Linked DNA regions of Homo sapiens: regions 1 and 3 are each linked to region 2. Evidence: promoter capture Hi-C in human tissues and cell types (Jung and others, 2019). All regions are on one chromosome and are shown on one strand. The core of a region is centred on a gene start or on the middle of the fragment in contact, and the rest is flanking DNA. Distances in the headings are between cores, read along the strand shown.

Evidence for each region. The method cuts DNA at HindIII sites, captures the fragments that hold promoters and counts their contacts. A contact is called where the count stands out against the background at its distance.
Region 1: a fragment that was not itself captured here is called in contact with the fragment with the promoter of TRIML1 in region 2 in 1 of the 25 tissues and cell types used here (dorsolateral prefrontal cortex).
Region 3: a fragment that was not itself captured here is called in contact with the fragment with the promoter of TRIML1 in region 2 in 1 of the 25 tissues and cell types used here (lymphoblastoid cells).

The regions. Positions count from the first base shown.
Region 1 is chr4:189,847,462-189,852,051 of GRCh38, forward strand. All of the region lies in intron 3 of FRG1-DT (FRG1 divergent transcript), which reads right to left. Among named protein-coding and RNA genes, the nearest start is that of LINC01596, 32 kb to the right of the region's middle. RefSeq lists an enhancer at 1-4. The HindIII fragment of the contact is 4,445 bases long and covers 1-3,847 here.
Region 2 is chr4:188,136,570-188,140,983 of GRCh38, forward strand. TRIML1 (tripartite motif family like 1) reads left to right here and starts at 2,872. Exons shown (of 6, transcript NM_178556.5): 1 at 2,872-3,397; 2 at 3,959-4,054. The coding sequence starts at 2,990. The HindIII fragment of the contact is 25,840 bases long and covers 1-4,414 here.
Region 3 is chr4:189,176,216-189,181,237 of GRCh38, forward strand. No RefSeq gene overlaps it. Among named protein-coding and RNA genes, the nearest start is that of LINC02508, 400 kb to the left of the region's middle. RefSeq lists enhancers at 1,674-2,300, 2,301-2,927. The HindIII fragment of the contact is 5,442 bases long and covers 99-5,022 here.

The sequences.
Region 1 (4,590 bases), core at 375-2,874, 1.7 Mb after region 2:
AACTAGTAAAGAAATGTACTCTTCTGTGGTCTTTAAAACTCCTCTTAGCAAGCTATTTTTATAAATAGGCTGTCCTGACTAATGATTCTTGGGCTATAAGGTGGCGTGCCCACCTCCCTCCCATTCAGTTCTTGGGCACCTTGTCTCTGATGAGAAGATCAATAATAATTAGGAGATGATTTTTAAGTTTACTTAAGTGCACTGCAATTCCTCTGGCTTCTTTACATAACTGTGAATGATGGTGACCCTGAGACAGGACGCTGGGGTTCACTAGGAGAAGTGACACCTGCCGTATAGTCACACATGCCCGCCCTACCCCAGTTTCATGCAGTGCTATCACAATGGCTGTGAGGGGGTGTATATCCTTAATTCCAGACCACAACTACTAGCAAAGCGACTGGGGGTCCACAGTCATGCAGGGGAAAGCACAGGACTTGGAGAAGTGGTGGCCAAATGACTAACTCAAGGCTGGTGGCCCACAAATCTGTCTTCAAATCCATGACAGGGACCCTTAAGGGGAATAGAAAAGACAATTGTCAATGAGAGTTGTATGCCTATCCCCCAGCACCCTGTGGACTTGCTGAGAACAAGGGCCTTGTTTTCCTCGCCCTTTGTGGCTGACACGGTGCTGGACACAGCTGCAGCCTATAACTTAGGGTGATTCGATCAACGATCTTGTCTAGAGTGGGAGATAGCTGGGAGCAGTGGTGAAATAAGAACATGAAAACGAAGGTTTTGTTAGCAGAGAAAGGTATGGAAGACAGGCCTTAATGGGAATAACAACAGGAGATTGCTGATATCTGAGGGATTGATGGGAGTGACAAGAAAAAAGAAGTAAACAAGCGGAGTCATGGGAAAGGCACCAAGGACAGGTTTCTTAAAAAGAGCTCTGAAGCTCACCAGTAGCAACAAAATGGTGGCATATTAAAAGCTGAGACAGTTTCAACCAAGGGGGTGTTTAATCATCATATATGGGAAGTGCTAGAATAGTTTCTGGTGGGGAATCCATTTTTTAGTTCAAAATTGATGTTGACCTCTGAACATCTAGTCCCAATCAACAACCCTTGAAGCTTCAGCAGACACTATGTCAAAGGCTGCTTAGAGAAGACATCCAGGAGACACTATGTCAGAGGCTGTTCAGAGGAGACACCCAGCAGACACTATGTCAGAGGCTGTTCAGAGGAGACACCCAGCAGACACTATGTCAGAGGCTGCTCAGAGAAGACACCCAGCAGACACTACGTCAGAGGCTGCTCAGAGGAGACACCCAGCAGACACTACGTCAGAGCCTGTTCAGAGGAGACACCCAGCAGACACTATGTCAGAGGCTGCTCAGAGAAGACACCCAGCAGACACTATGTCAGAGGCTGCTCAGAGGAGACACCCAGCAGACACTATGTCAGAGGCTGCTCAGAGAAGGGACCCAGCAGACACTATGTCAGAGGCTGCTCAGAGAAGGGACCCAGCAGACACTATGTCAGAGGCTGCTCAGAGAAGACACCCAGCAGACACTACGTCAGAGGCTGTTCAGAGGAGACACCCAGCAGACCCTATGTCAGAGGCTGCTCAGAGAAGAGACCTAGCAGACACTATGTCAGAGGCTGCTCAGAGAAGAGACCCAGAAGACACTATGTCAGAGGCTGCTCAGAGAAGGGACCCAGCAGACGCTATGTCAGAAGCTGCTCAGAGAAGAGACCCAGAAGACACTATGTCAGAGGTTGCTTAGAGAAGGGACCCAGCAGACGCTATGTCAGAGGCTGTTCAGAGGAGACACCCAGCAGACACCATGTCAGAGGCTGTTTAGAGAAGACACCCAGCAGACACTATGTCAGAGGCTGTTCAGAGGAGACACCCAGCAGACACCATGTCAGAGGCTGTTTAGAGAAGACACCCAGCAGACACTATGTCAGAGGCTGCTTAGGCAAGAGACCCAGCAGACACTATTTCAGAGGATGTGTAGGGAAGACACGCAGCCAGAAGGGTTTGGTTATTGACAAGATAAAATGACCAACCTGTGTTTTTAGGATGCATTGTATGAAATCACCTTCCTTAGAAATATTTGATAAAATATGCCATCTTTTATGCTGAGCAAAAGATATCAGACACAAATGAATACATATTGTGTGATTCCACTTATATGAAGTTTGAAAACCAGCAAAACCAATCTATAGGGACACAGAGCAATTGGTGGTTTTCTGGGGCTGAAAAATTACTGGTGAAGACTGACTGACAAGGGGCAAGAGGGAACTTCTAGAGTTACAGAAATGTTCTACACCTTGGGTACACCAACACATACATTTGTCAAAACACACTGTACTTGATCTTTAAAATGTAGGCCTTTTGTTGTATATAAATTATATACCTCTTAAGTTGATTTTAAAAAAAACTGTCTTTACTTAAATTTAGACTTTGAAACCCTTCAGAAAGTCCTAAAAATTCTGTACAATTAGTATTGAACACTAGGATACACATGGGCAACCAATCCTAGACAGCTCAGCACAGGACAAACAGAAAGGTCATCCTGCAACATGCAATCTAGATGACGAAGAAAGATAACTCAAATGAGACACCTCAGAGACCTCTGTTCTCCAGTTCTGGCTCTGATTTTCATGAATTACAAAGTAAGGAAGATTCAGAGTTAATAGCATAGCCACAATGTAAAATATATTTAGTTTGTTGAATATTAACATTTTACCATAACTATAATGTACATTTAGTTTGTTGATCATTAATGTTTGTTTCCTGTATGAAAAAAATGTATGCATATATAATTCTCGTTCTACATCTAGGTTCATTCATTCTATCTACTAATCCTTTTATGGCCTTTTAAAAGCTGGTTAAGGAATTTATAAGATGACTGTCTAGACCAGAGGAACTCAACTGACAATGGAAGTGATGATTCTGGCAGCTAAGCTGGGTAGATCTTACTCTTTACAGACTGGTGTTTCAAAAGGTCTTGCTCCTGTCGAGGGGTGAGTTACTTCACCTCTAGTACAAGCCCAAGGTATCCTAAACCAAACAGCACTAACAGGGCCCACCCGTCTCTGGGCAGCAAAATATTTTTGTTTGTTGGTGTTGCTATTTTTGTTTATAAATGTGTCGATTTTGTCTAATCTGTAGACCATTCTTTACTGAACATGAGGAACAAGGCATCTTTCAGATGTAGCAGAGTTCAGTGCAAAAGCACTGAGCTGACTAATAATTTGGAGACTTGGGTTCCAATACTGGTTCATCATTAACCAGAGGCATTGCTTCAGGCAAGTCAAGGGACCTCTTTAGATCTAATCTATAAACTAGGGGAAAAAGAATAAATGAAATATAAGAAAAGATTCCTTTAGCTATAAAAGTTTATGATTCTATATGTCAAAACCACCAGAAAATCTTAGACCTCACCTGGAACTTTAAAGACCAGAGTTCCCTACGAAGGGATTCAGGACCCTTCAGGACACATATAAACTCACAACAATGGACCTCATATGCCTGGAGGCTTAATTGACCTAGGTTGTTGCAAACGACCAAGCTTCTTTCTCTTATAAGGCTGAATAGAATTTCATTGTATGTGTATAGACCATGTTTTATTTATCCAATCATCTGATGGTCACTTAAGTTGATACCGTAACTTGGCTATTGTGAACAGAGCTGCAATGAACACGGGAGTGCAGACATCTCTCTGGCATAGATATGGGTTTTGTGTCAATACACACAAGCGGGATTGCCAGGTCATATGGTAATTCTATTTTTAGTTTTTTGAGGAACCTCCATACAGTTTTCCATAAAAGTTGTACTAATTTACATTCCCAAGAACAGAGTACAAAAGTTCTCTTTTCTCCACATTCTCACCAAAACTTTTTAATCCCTTCTCTCTTTTTTTTTAAATAGCCATGTTGAGAGGTGTGAGGTGCTGTCTCATTGTGGTTTTAACTTGCATTTCCCTAATGATTAGTGATATTGAGTTTTTTCTTTTTACATATATTTGTAGGTAATTTGTATATCTTCTCCTGAAAAATGTTTATTCAGGTCCTATGCCCATTTTTTAAATTAGTCTTATTTGTTTTCTAGAGTTGTTTGAGTTCCGCATGCATTTTGGATATTAGCTTCTTATCAGATATGTGGCTTGCAAATATTTTCTCCTAATTTGTAGGTTGTTTCTGTTGTTTCCTTTGTTATACAGAAGCTTTCATATTTCATGAAATCCCATTCATCTCTTTTTGCTTTTGTTGCCTGTGGTTGTAGAGTAAAATTGAAAATGTAATTGCCCAAACCAATTTCATGTAGTTTTCTCCCTATGTTTTTTTCTAGTAGTTTTACAGTTTCAGATTTTATGCTTAAGTCTTCGACCCATTTTGAGTTAATTTTTTCACATGATATGAGAAAAGGTTTCAATTTAATTCTTCTATATATAGATATCCAATTTTCTCAAAAACATTTATTAAAGATATCCATTTTATATTGTGTATTCTTGGCACACTTACGATCTTTTGTAATTTAGTTTTATAATTGATCCTTTGCAGAACCTGGAGAGGTGCTTGTGGTTTTGACTTGGCTGATTGCCTATTTAGAGTACAATTCAGTATGTTCTTCCAAACTCTG
Region 2 (4,414 bases), core at 1,622-4,121:
CCAGGATGGTCTAGATCTCCGGACCTCGTGATCCACCTGCCTTGGCCTCCCAAAATGCTGGGATTACAGGTGTGAGCCACCGCGCCTGGCCTGCAATGTTCATTTTATTGAGATAACTGGAAATTTTCACCCACTCACAAGTCAACAAGTGGATGCAGTATAGTGTGTTGACAAAAGAGAAAGACTGGGAGGTAGGCGCTCCAGTTTCCTAGTCCTAATCCGGCGTATGTGGTAAGTGAGTATCAGGAGATGAATTTAATTTATTCTAGCCTCAGTTTTCCTCAGCATCTGTAGAAGGTAGTTGGACTATATGATCTCTTGACTTCCAGCTAAATATAAGACTATGATTCCATAATAATATAGTTCCTCTATTCATTTATAACTCATTAACAGAAAAATCGAGCCACGTGCAAAGAATTCTTGTAGTCATCAATGAATAACACGTGGTTATTGTGTTACGATGCCTATAAAATAAAAAAAATTATCTGGAAGAGGGAAACGGGATAGAGCAGATCAGTGTGACTTGAACAGAGACTATGCCAGCCTCCCTATTCCAAATTGGAATACTGGCTCTGTGATGTGCTATAACTGTATTGTGAGGCTTATTCTAATGATTTTGGTAAATGTTAAAGACTCCTCCTGGGGTTGTGTTGAAATAACACACTGAATGGAGATGGTAGTTCATAAATTCTTTTTCTAGTGGTGGCAGTTAGTGTTATTGTAGTCTTTTTTTTTTTTTTTTTTTTTTTTTGAGATGGGATCTTTCTCTGTCTCCCAAGCTGGAGTGCAGTGGTGGGATCTTGGCTCACTGCAACCTCCACCTCTTGGGTTCAAGTGATTCTCCTGCCTCAGCCTCCCAAGTAGCTGGGATTACAGGCGTGCAACACCACACCCAGCTATTTTTACTTTTTTTTTTTTTTTTTTTGAGACAGAGTTTCGCTTTTGTTGCCCAGGCTGGAGTGCAATGGCGTGATCTCACCTCACTGCAACCTCCACCTCCTGGGTTCAAGCAATTCTTCTGTCTCAGCCTCCTGACTAGCTGGGATTACAGGCATGTGCCACCATGCCCGGCTAATTTTGTATTTTTAGTAGAGACGGAGTTTCTCCATGTTGGCCAGGCTGGTCTCGAACTCCCGACCTCAAGTGATCTGCCTGCCTCAGCCTCCCAAAGTGCTGGGATTACAGGCATGAACCACTGCACCCGGCCTAATTTTCATATTTTTAGTAGAGACGGAGTTTCACCATGTTGGCCAGGCTGGTCTTAAACTCCTGACCTCAAGTGATCCACCCACCTCGGCCTCCCAAACTGCTGGGATTACAGATGTGAGCAACCGCGCCTGGCCAAACTTTTTTTCTTTTTTTTTTTAAGACTCTTACAAGACTAACTCATAGCAATATTCTGAAGCTGTGACAAGTTAGTATCCTGGAGGCTATCTTGGTAGAGGTTTCATGATGCCACCCTGATGCCACCTCTCTTCCTCTTTACAGTAGTATAACTCTTTGCTCTTATTTTTTCATAGCTTAAATTCTCATCCTAGCAATTCACGTATGCTTTACAAGGGATGTATAGGATTGAAACATTTTGAATTAATGATTTCAGAAAGGTGAGTTTTGACTAGGAGAAAGGAAGGTGGAGGAAAAAACATTCTCAGCCAGAAAACTTCTTTTTCCCAAAGTTCAAGATAAGAAAACATCCAACATCCTGTTGGAGGTAAGTGGGAAAGAAGTAGCAGTTGGAGCCTTGAAAGTCAGAAACCAATGAACGGAACAGCCTGAGTAATGGACCCGACTCGTGGAAGGCTGCCAAGCTGGAGAGTGAGGGGACGGAGACAGAAATATGGCGTGATGAGTTCGTGGGAAGGTCAAACTCGCTGGCCTTTGAGGAAGAGCTTTTGAGGTGCAACTTCCTGGCATGCAGTGAGCAGAAGGCAGGCCAGGACAGGAGCTGACTCCCGAGCAGGGGACACAGTGAATTTGTGGCATTTGTTACCAATCTCGGAGTTCACTGTGCACAGTCTCCACACTAGGCATTTACTTTTTCATATGTCCGAAAAAATGTCTGCACACTTCATTTCTGTCCAGTAAGAACTGATAATCAGGGATTTGAAGGGGCCTAGTTTGGAAATTTTCAATGGGTGAAAATAAGTGAGCAAAATTACATTTATACTAAAATATAATTCTTTCCATCTGCTCCATAGTGGGATAGCCTCTTGAGGCAACTTCCAATTAGAATGTCATTTTAGATGCTTTCCAAGATGGCAGATGGGTGAGTACTAGGGTGTGCAGGGAAGATCAATAAACAGCTCTGGCAATTCATCGTGCGCCTAACACCAAGGAATACTTCAGTGGAAGAGCTCTCATTTTGTTGGGATGAATAAAATTAAATAAAAGTACACAGTACCCAATAAAGGAACAAAAGCTTAGGCTTTGGTCAAGCAGAACAAAAGGGGCTAATGAGAAAAGGACTATGTATTACAGTTTTCTTCTCTCAGTTCTCAACTAGGTTTTATTAGTGGAGTTCCCAAAAGATTTGGACCAAATTTCCAATTCAGATATTATTAGAGATCATCAAAACTCAAATCTCTTTACTGGTTTACACCAAATCACCCAAGCTTCCAGCCTAAAACCCACATGCTCACATGGTTCCACAGTGCTGTTTATGTACAATAACCAGTTCTCAAAATGGTAATCCTGTTAGAAGCCAGAATCCTCAGCCTCTAGCATGTGTGCTTTTCACAGAGATAAGTCTCAAAGTTTGGGGTTGGTGAGGAGCCCAGTATACAGGAGTTCCACATTAAGTCATAATTGGCTTTGTGTTGGACAGTGTATGTCAGCTGGTGAAATCAGGCACAGAAGAGATAAGGGTTTCTTGTCATAACAACATAGGAACAGGTCACCCGCGTGTTACTCAAAACTGTAGGACGGCAGTGAGGGCTTTGCTAATCCCAGAACAGAGGTGTAACCTGGCTGCATATCCAGCCTCGAGAAAATGTCTACAGCAGATCTGATGGAGAACCTCAGGGAGGAACTCACCTGTTTCATCTGCTTAGACTATTTCAGCAGCCCAGTGACCACCGAGTGTGGGCACAGCTTTTGTCTGGTGTGTCTCCTCAGGAGCTGGGAGGAACATAACACACCTTTATCTTGTCCTGAGTGCTGGAGGACCTTGGAGGGCCCGCATTTCCAGTCAAACGAGCGTCTGGGGAGGCTGGCCAGCATCGCCAGGCAGCTCCGGTCCCAGGTGCTGCAGAGCGAGGATGAGCAGGGCAGCTACGGGAGGATGCCCACCACTGCCAAGGCGCTCTCCGATGACGAGCAGGGTGGAAGCGCCTTCGTAGCCCAGAGCCATGGTGCAAACAGAGTGCATCTCTCCAGCGAGGCTGAGGAGCATCACAGAGTAAGACAGCTGCTCAGCATGAACCCCACGACTCATCGCAGCTAACTCCGTTAGCTTTCCTGACGTTTCCTAACGTCCTCTGTGGGGGACAGTCACGAGGGCCCATCTGAGCACCACATCACAAACTGGCGTGGGTCCAGTTTACACCCTTTTTTTTCCCTTTTTTTGTTTTTGAGACAGAGTTTTGCTCTGTTGCCCAGGCTGGAGTGCAGCAGTGCGATCTCAGTCACTGCAACCTCCGCCTCCCAGGTTCACGCCATTCTCCTGCCTCAGCCTCCCCAGTAGCTGGGACTACAGTCACCCACCACCACGCCCGGCTAATTTTTTGTATTTTTAATAGAGACGGGGTTTCACCATGTTGGCCAGGCTGGTCTTGAACTCCTGACCTCAGGTGATCCGCCTGCCTCGGCCTCCCAAAGTGCTGGGATTACAGGCGTGAGGCGCCGCACCCAGCCTGCCCTTTGTTTTAGAGGCCTAGGACTGCGCAGTTACTGGTCTTCAAAGCCCCTTCATGACCTGGGACTCTGCTCATTTGCCAGAAAGGGTTTGTTTCTATTGCAGGAGAAACTCCAGGAAATCCTGAATCTTTTGCGTGTAAGGAGAAAGGAAGCTCAGGCTGTACTAACCCATGAGAAGGAGAGAGTGAAACTGTGCCAGGTCGGTGTCTGTCTGACTTTTGCTGCTTGTATATGACCCCATAAGGGGGACTAAAGGGAAATTTAGTGAAATATCAGGAAAAAAAAAAGACAAATTTTTCCAGTCTCACCTCTAAAATATGCAGTTTCCTTGCATTGGGCTGCCTTCTTCTGAGCGTCCTCGTGGGAGTCTCAAGGCTCAGCTGCAATTCGCCCCCTCTAGGAGCCTCCTTTGCATAACTAGACAACGCTGTGGCTTCCTCTATGATGGCTCTGGTAGAATTATTTAAAACACAAGTGATACTTATAGACATGTAACATGAGACGGAAAGCGATTTTAAAAAGAAATATCTCAAAAACATGGAGGGGAAAATGCAAATTA
Region 3 (5,022 bases), core at 1,570-4,069, 1.0 Mb after region 2:
TTTGCCATGACAAGGCACTGCAATAAGAACTTTCCCAGATAATAAACTTGACCACTGGTATGCACTGCCAACCGAAGGTAAGGATCAGTATTCTCACAGGTTAAGAAAAGTACCTTTGACGGTATTTTTACAAAGTTCTGTAATTCAGTATTTCCTTCAGCTCAGTGGGCATGATGGTGTCGGTTGAGACTTTAAAGATGTTATTGTCAAAATCATTTTACTTCTCATAAAGAAGCATTTTGCCTTATCAATTTCAGAGTACAGGTTCACTGGCTGCTTTGAAATGTTGTTGAAATGTAAGAGACTACAAGCAACTATACTAATCAGTATGCAATTGCTACACCAAAAATGCATGAGTTTTTCCATGATTCCTCTTTCTAGTAATAATTAATTACCTAGTGGGTTTATTTATTTAGAGTTTTGAGGATTGCAAGTATGTTTCTTTTTGTAAATAGATACTAATTCTTCTAAGGATTCAAGTAGACATACAGAATGAACATTCCCTTAGTTTTTAAATTTTATTATAAATGGATTCCAGATCAGCATTTCCCTTGTCCATGTATATGTGGCTGTCATCAGGAGGAGATGAATAGCTATTAACTATAGTAGTGACAATGCCAATGGTAATAATATTAATCCTTTAATATCCACTATGTGCCTTTTTCTATGCTAAATATTTTATATTTATATGATCACATTCAACATTTTGTGTGTAATTTTACACTTAGCTTTCTACTTTTTCTGAGTCTGATCTCCCCAAAGGTATCTTACCACAACAAGTACTGGAGTAAGAACTATTTTAAATGCCAGTTTTAAACATGTCTCAAATTCCTCTGGCTTAAACATTCTCTTATTCTATCTGTTTAGAATAAATATATTTTTATTAAAGAAATCTCTTTTTAATAAATGACTATTTTTTTTCTAATTTCCTCTTCCTCTTTTTTCTCCCCTTAGTGGTGTATGGGTCTACCAGGTGCCTAACCTTCCCTGTAACTATGCCCAGGGGAGCCTATTCCAGTCACTAATGCTGCTAACGAGTCACTCTAAAATGTGGTGAGTAAAGCAACAGTGACTGTATTGTGTCTCATAGCATCTGCGCTTTGAAGACGGAAGAGCTCCTCTGGCTTGTGGTTTCTCAATGAATTGCCCACAGGTGGTGGCTGAAGCTGAGACCACAGGAAAGGAATGGCTACGTCCTGGCCAGGCACCCAGGCACCTCTATCTGATCTCTCTGCATGGATTAGTTAGGGCTTCCTCCCCAGCTAATGGGGAAGGTGCTTGAAGGCAGAAATCTGTTTCCATGAAAACCGAGCTCTTCAAAAGCAAGTATCCCCGTGGTCATCACCTTTCTGGACCCAGCCCAGGGAAGCACACAAGTTACTTCTGCTGCACTGTCCAGGTTACAGGCAAGTTACAGGCTCACTCAGATTCAAAGGAAGGGAACATAATTCAGAATGCTCAGTGCAAATATTGTCAAGATCCCTTTGCAAGAGCATGTGGAATGGGAAATATCCCTGTGGCCACTTTTGCATAATACAGTCTGCCTTAGGGGCTCTGGTCATCGGTGGCCTGAGCCACAGAGGCTGCTCTTGTCAGTAGATTGGCCTGTGGTGATGTGCCACTGATCCTGTCTGGCGTCTGCCTCTGGCTCCCACGTTTCTCTTTTCCACAAGCTCCTGGTCATACCCTGAGGGCTCACTGTCCTCTCAGCACCCCTGCTTTGATCACCAGGGCACATGGAACCCCACACATTCCACTCACACTGTGGACAACTAGGAGTGTTATCTCAGGCTAACAGGTGTGTCCTGCCAATCCAAAGGAGGGGTTTCTGTTATTACCAGGGAAAGAGGTTTAACTGCCCAATGGGTTTTTCCTGCTTGCTGCACAAAGACAGACCACATTATTACAGTAAAGAAAGAGTTTAATTGATGTGAGACTGGCCAGGCCATGTGGGAGACAGAGTTATTACCTAAATCAATCTCTTTGAAGGCTCTCATAGGTTAAGGGTTTTTCAAAGGCAGTTTAGAAGGGGCAGCGGTGGCTAGGAAATGGATGTTTGCTGCTAATTGGTTGGGGTGGAGATGAACTCGTAAGCAGTTGAAGCTGCCTCTTGAGCTGAATTGCTCCTGAGTGGTGGGTGCTACATGGGTGGTTTGGCAGGTCCAGTTGGAGCCATCTGTGTCAGACATGCAAAAAACCTGAAAAGCCATTTCAAAAGTCCAGTCTACTATAGTGATGGTATCTGCAGGAGTAATTGGGGAAGTTGTTTATCTTGTGACCAGTCTATACCTTAGCAGAATTTAAGCTCTTTTTCTCCCACTAGCCCAATGGTCTCTCATTAGCTTTACAAAGATGGTTGAGTTCTGAGGAAAGGCTGTTATCATTTAAATTATAACCTAATTGTCTTCCAAATTTACCTAGGCCCAGGAATAATTAAGGCAACTGGAAAGCTAGAGGCAAAAGGAGGCGTTGGCAAGATCAGACCTCCCTTACTGCCATAATTTTCTCATGGACATAATTTTTTTGAAGGCCATTTCAGAGGCCGTGTAACCTTGGATGGCTTAGAACCCTTCATGACTCTGTGGAGGGTTCTGTATCCTCTGTCATTAGAGAGACCCTGTGATGGAGGAAAAGGGAAAGAAGCTCTGCTATTTTCCTTCTCACTCTTCCCTACATATGTCCGCATCTCTAAACAAGATCAAACCTATGGTTATTAACACATAATAAAACATCATATGCATTCATTCATCCAACGGATCGAATTCATTGAGCACCGGTCTGTGGCAGGCTCTGTCCCTATGAAGCCTGCATGCGAATGGAAAAGACTGACCTGGGAAGGATGGACATAGTAAATAAGTAATTGAAGGCCATGGGAAGGGATGAGGAGACAGAGCACAACAGAGGCTGACATTTTGGAGACAGTGGTGAGGAGAACCTCTCCAAAAAGGTGATTGTGAGCAGAGATCTCAGAAAGTTCCAAAGCAAATTGTGTGCAGATCTGGAGGAAGAGCCCTTGAGGCAGAGTGCAGGGACCTGCTATGAACACAGGGTCAGGTTGCTAGAAGAAAGACAGTTGTAAACAGCTCACATTGATTGAGGGGGAGATGGGCAAGAGAAGATGTTTGCAGAGTTGGAGACAGCAGGGATCCCCTGATGCCACGCAGGCCGCTTTCGGGAGTCGGGATTTTATTCACTGAGGAGGCATGTCATGTGTGCCATTCTCAGCTCACCTTTTTCTCTCTAACTTATTTCCAGGGCCTGTCTATGTGGGTGTCATAGACCCAGGCCATCCTGTTGTCGAGGCCAGGGGAAAGCTTCCCCTTTATGCTCTGCAGGTTTGCTGAAAAATCAACTCACGAAGGAGACTAATAGGAGAAAAGACAGGCAAATTTATTTGATCTTAGTGGAGTCTTCAGACTGCGGACCCAGAGATGCAGGGGAAATTGTCCATTTTTATGCTTAGGTTCAACAACGTATGGACAGCTGTGTGGAAATAGGATTAAACAAAAAGGGTGTGATCTAGTGCTGAGACACTGGGTGGACTGAGACACTGAGTGGGGGCACCCAGCAAGGCCTGACATGCAGATTCTTCCTGGCCTCTCTGGGCATCATCCCTCCCCTCTGGTGTGGGGCAGGGCCCTCTCTGCAATGGGGTCTCATGACCTGCAGTCAAAGTCGGTCGGAGAGTGTCTTTATTGCCAGTTTTGCATGGAATTGAGGGGGCAAAGCTGGAATAATATTTTAGGTTTTATGGCTGGCATAGGGCAAAAGGGATTCTGGTTTCTATAACCTGCTTTGTGGAAGAGGGATTCCAGTTTCTATGGCTGGCCTCAGGGGAGAATGAGACTGAGATAGGTGGGCAGGAGACAGGGAAAAACATTTGTTTCTGAGGACTTCATTTTGGGTTATTGTTTTCTGAGTCCCAATACTATATACTACTTTATCTTACAAATGTACTACAATTTTTTATATTGTCCTCTTATTGATAAAATATAGGTTCTTCATACTGTTCACAAAGATGGTTTATTGTTATTTATGCTGAAAGTTTCTGTCTTAAAATAAGACTGACTTATTTTCTTTTTTATTAATATTGTAAAATAATATAGTTTCTATGACCTGGTTTTGTGGGTTCTAATTTTTCATATTTTTACTTTGTTTTCTATTTCTCCTTCCTCTGCCCACTGTTGTATAGATTGCATTTCCTTAATTCTTAATTCCCATACTGGCTTTCTCCGGTTTGAAATTAAAGCAGTATACTTTTATATTTACCCTGAAATGGTCAACATGCATGCTTATCTTTGGAAAGACTAAAGTGGCTCAGTATCTTTGTCATCTTCCCAAACAATACAATTCTATACTCTTCTCATCTTCCATATTTTTGAGATGTAGAATTTAATATTCATTTTTCTAAAAGTTTCACCAAAATTGTCTTAAGGTTTCTTTTCAATTCCAATCAATACCAATCTAAATGTAACAAGTTTTACCAACTTCTATGTATACAATTACTTTCTATCTATTTCTTCTTCTGGGTTTTTCATTGTTGAAGCACATCTTTGGGGAGAATTTTCAGCAAGCCTCTGTGAGCGGTAAACTCAGTCTTTCATGTCTGAAATTGCCTTTGTTTTTCCTTACAATGATTGCATTGCCACCTGACATTTACCAATGCCAGAGACAAATCTGTTGTCTTGTTCCTTTGCAAGTAACCTGCAGTGTTCCTCTGTTTTGGATGGTTCAACTCTGTACCGCAGTGTGTCTAAGTGGGAATTTGCTTTTATTCGTGCTGCTTGAAACTTAATATAAATCTTCAGTCTGAGCACTCACATCTTTCTTTAATTCTAGAAAACTCTCATCAAATTTATTTAGAAGATTGCATCTTAACCATTGTCTCAATTCCCTGCTTTGAACTTCGAATAGATAATGGCTGGAGCCTTGGCTTCTCTCCTCCACTTTTCAAATTCTCTTTCATATTTTCTATCTCTTTTCCTCACTGGTCTCTATATTCAGTCATTTCCTCTTGTCTAT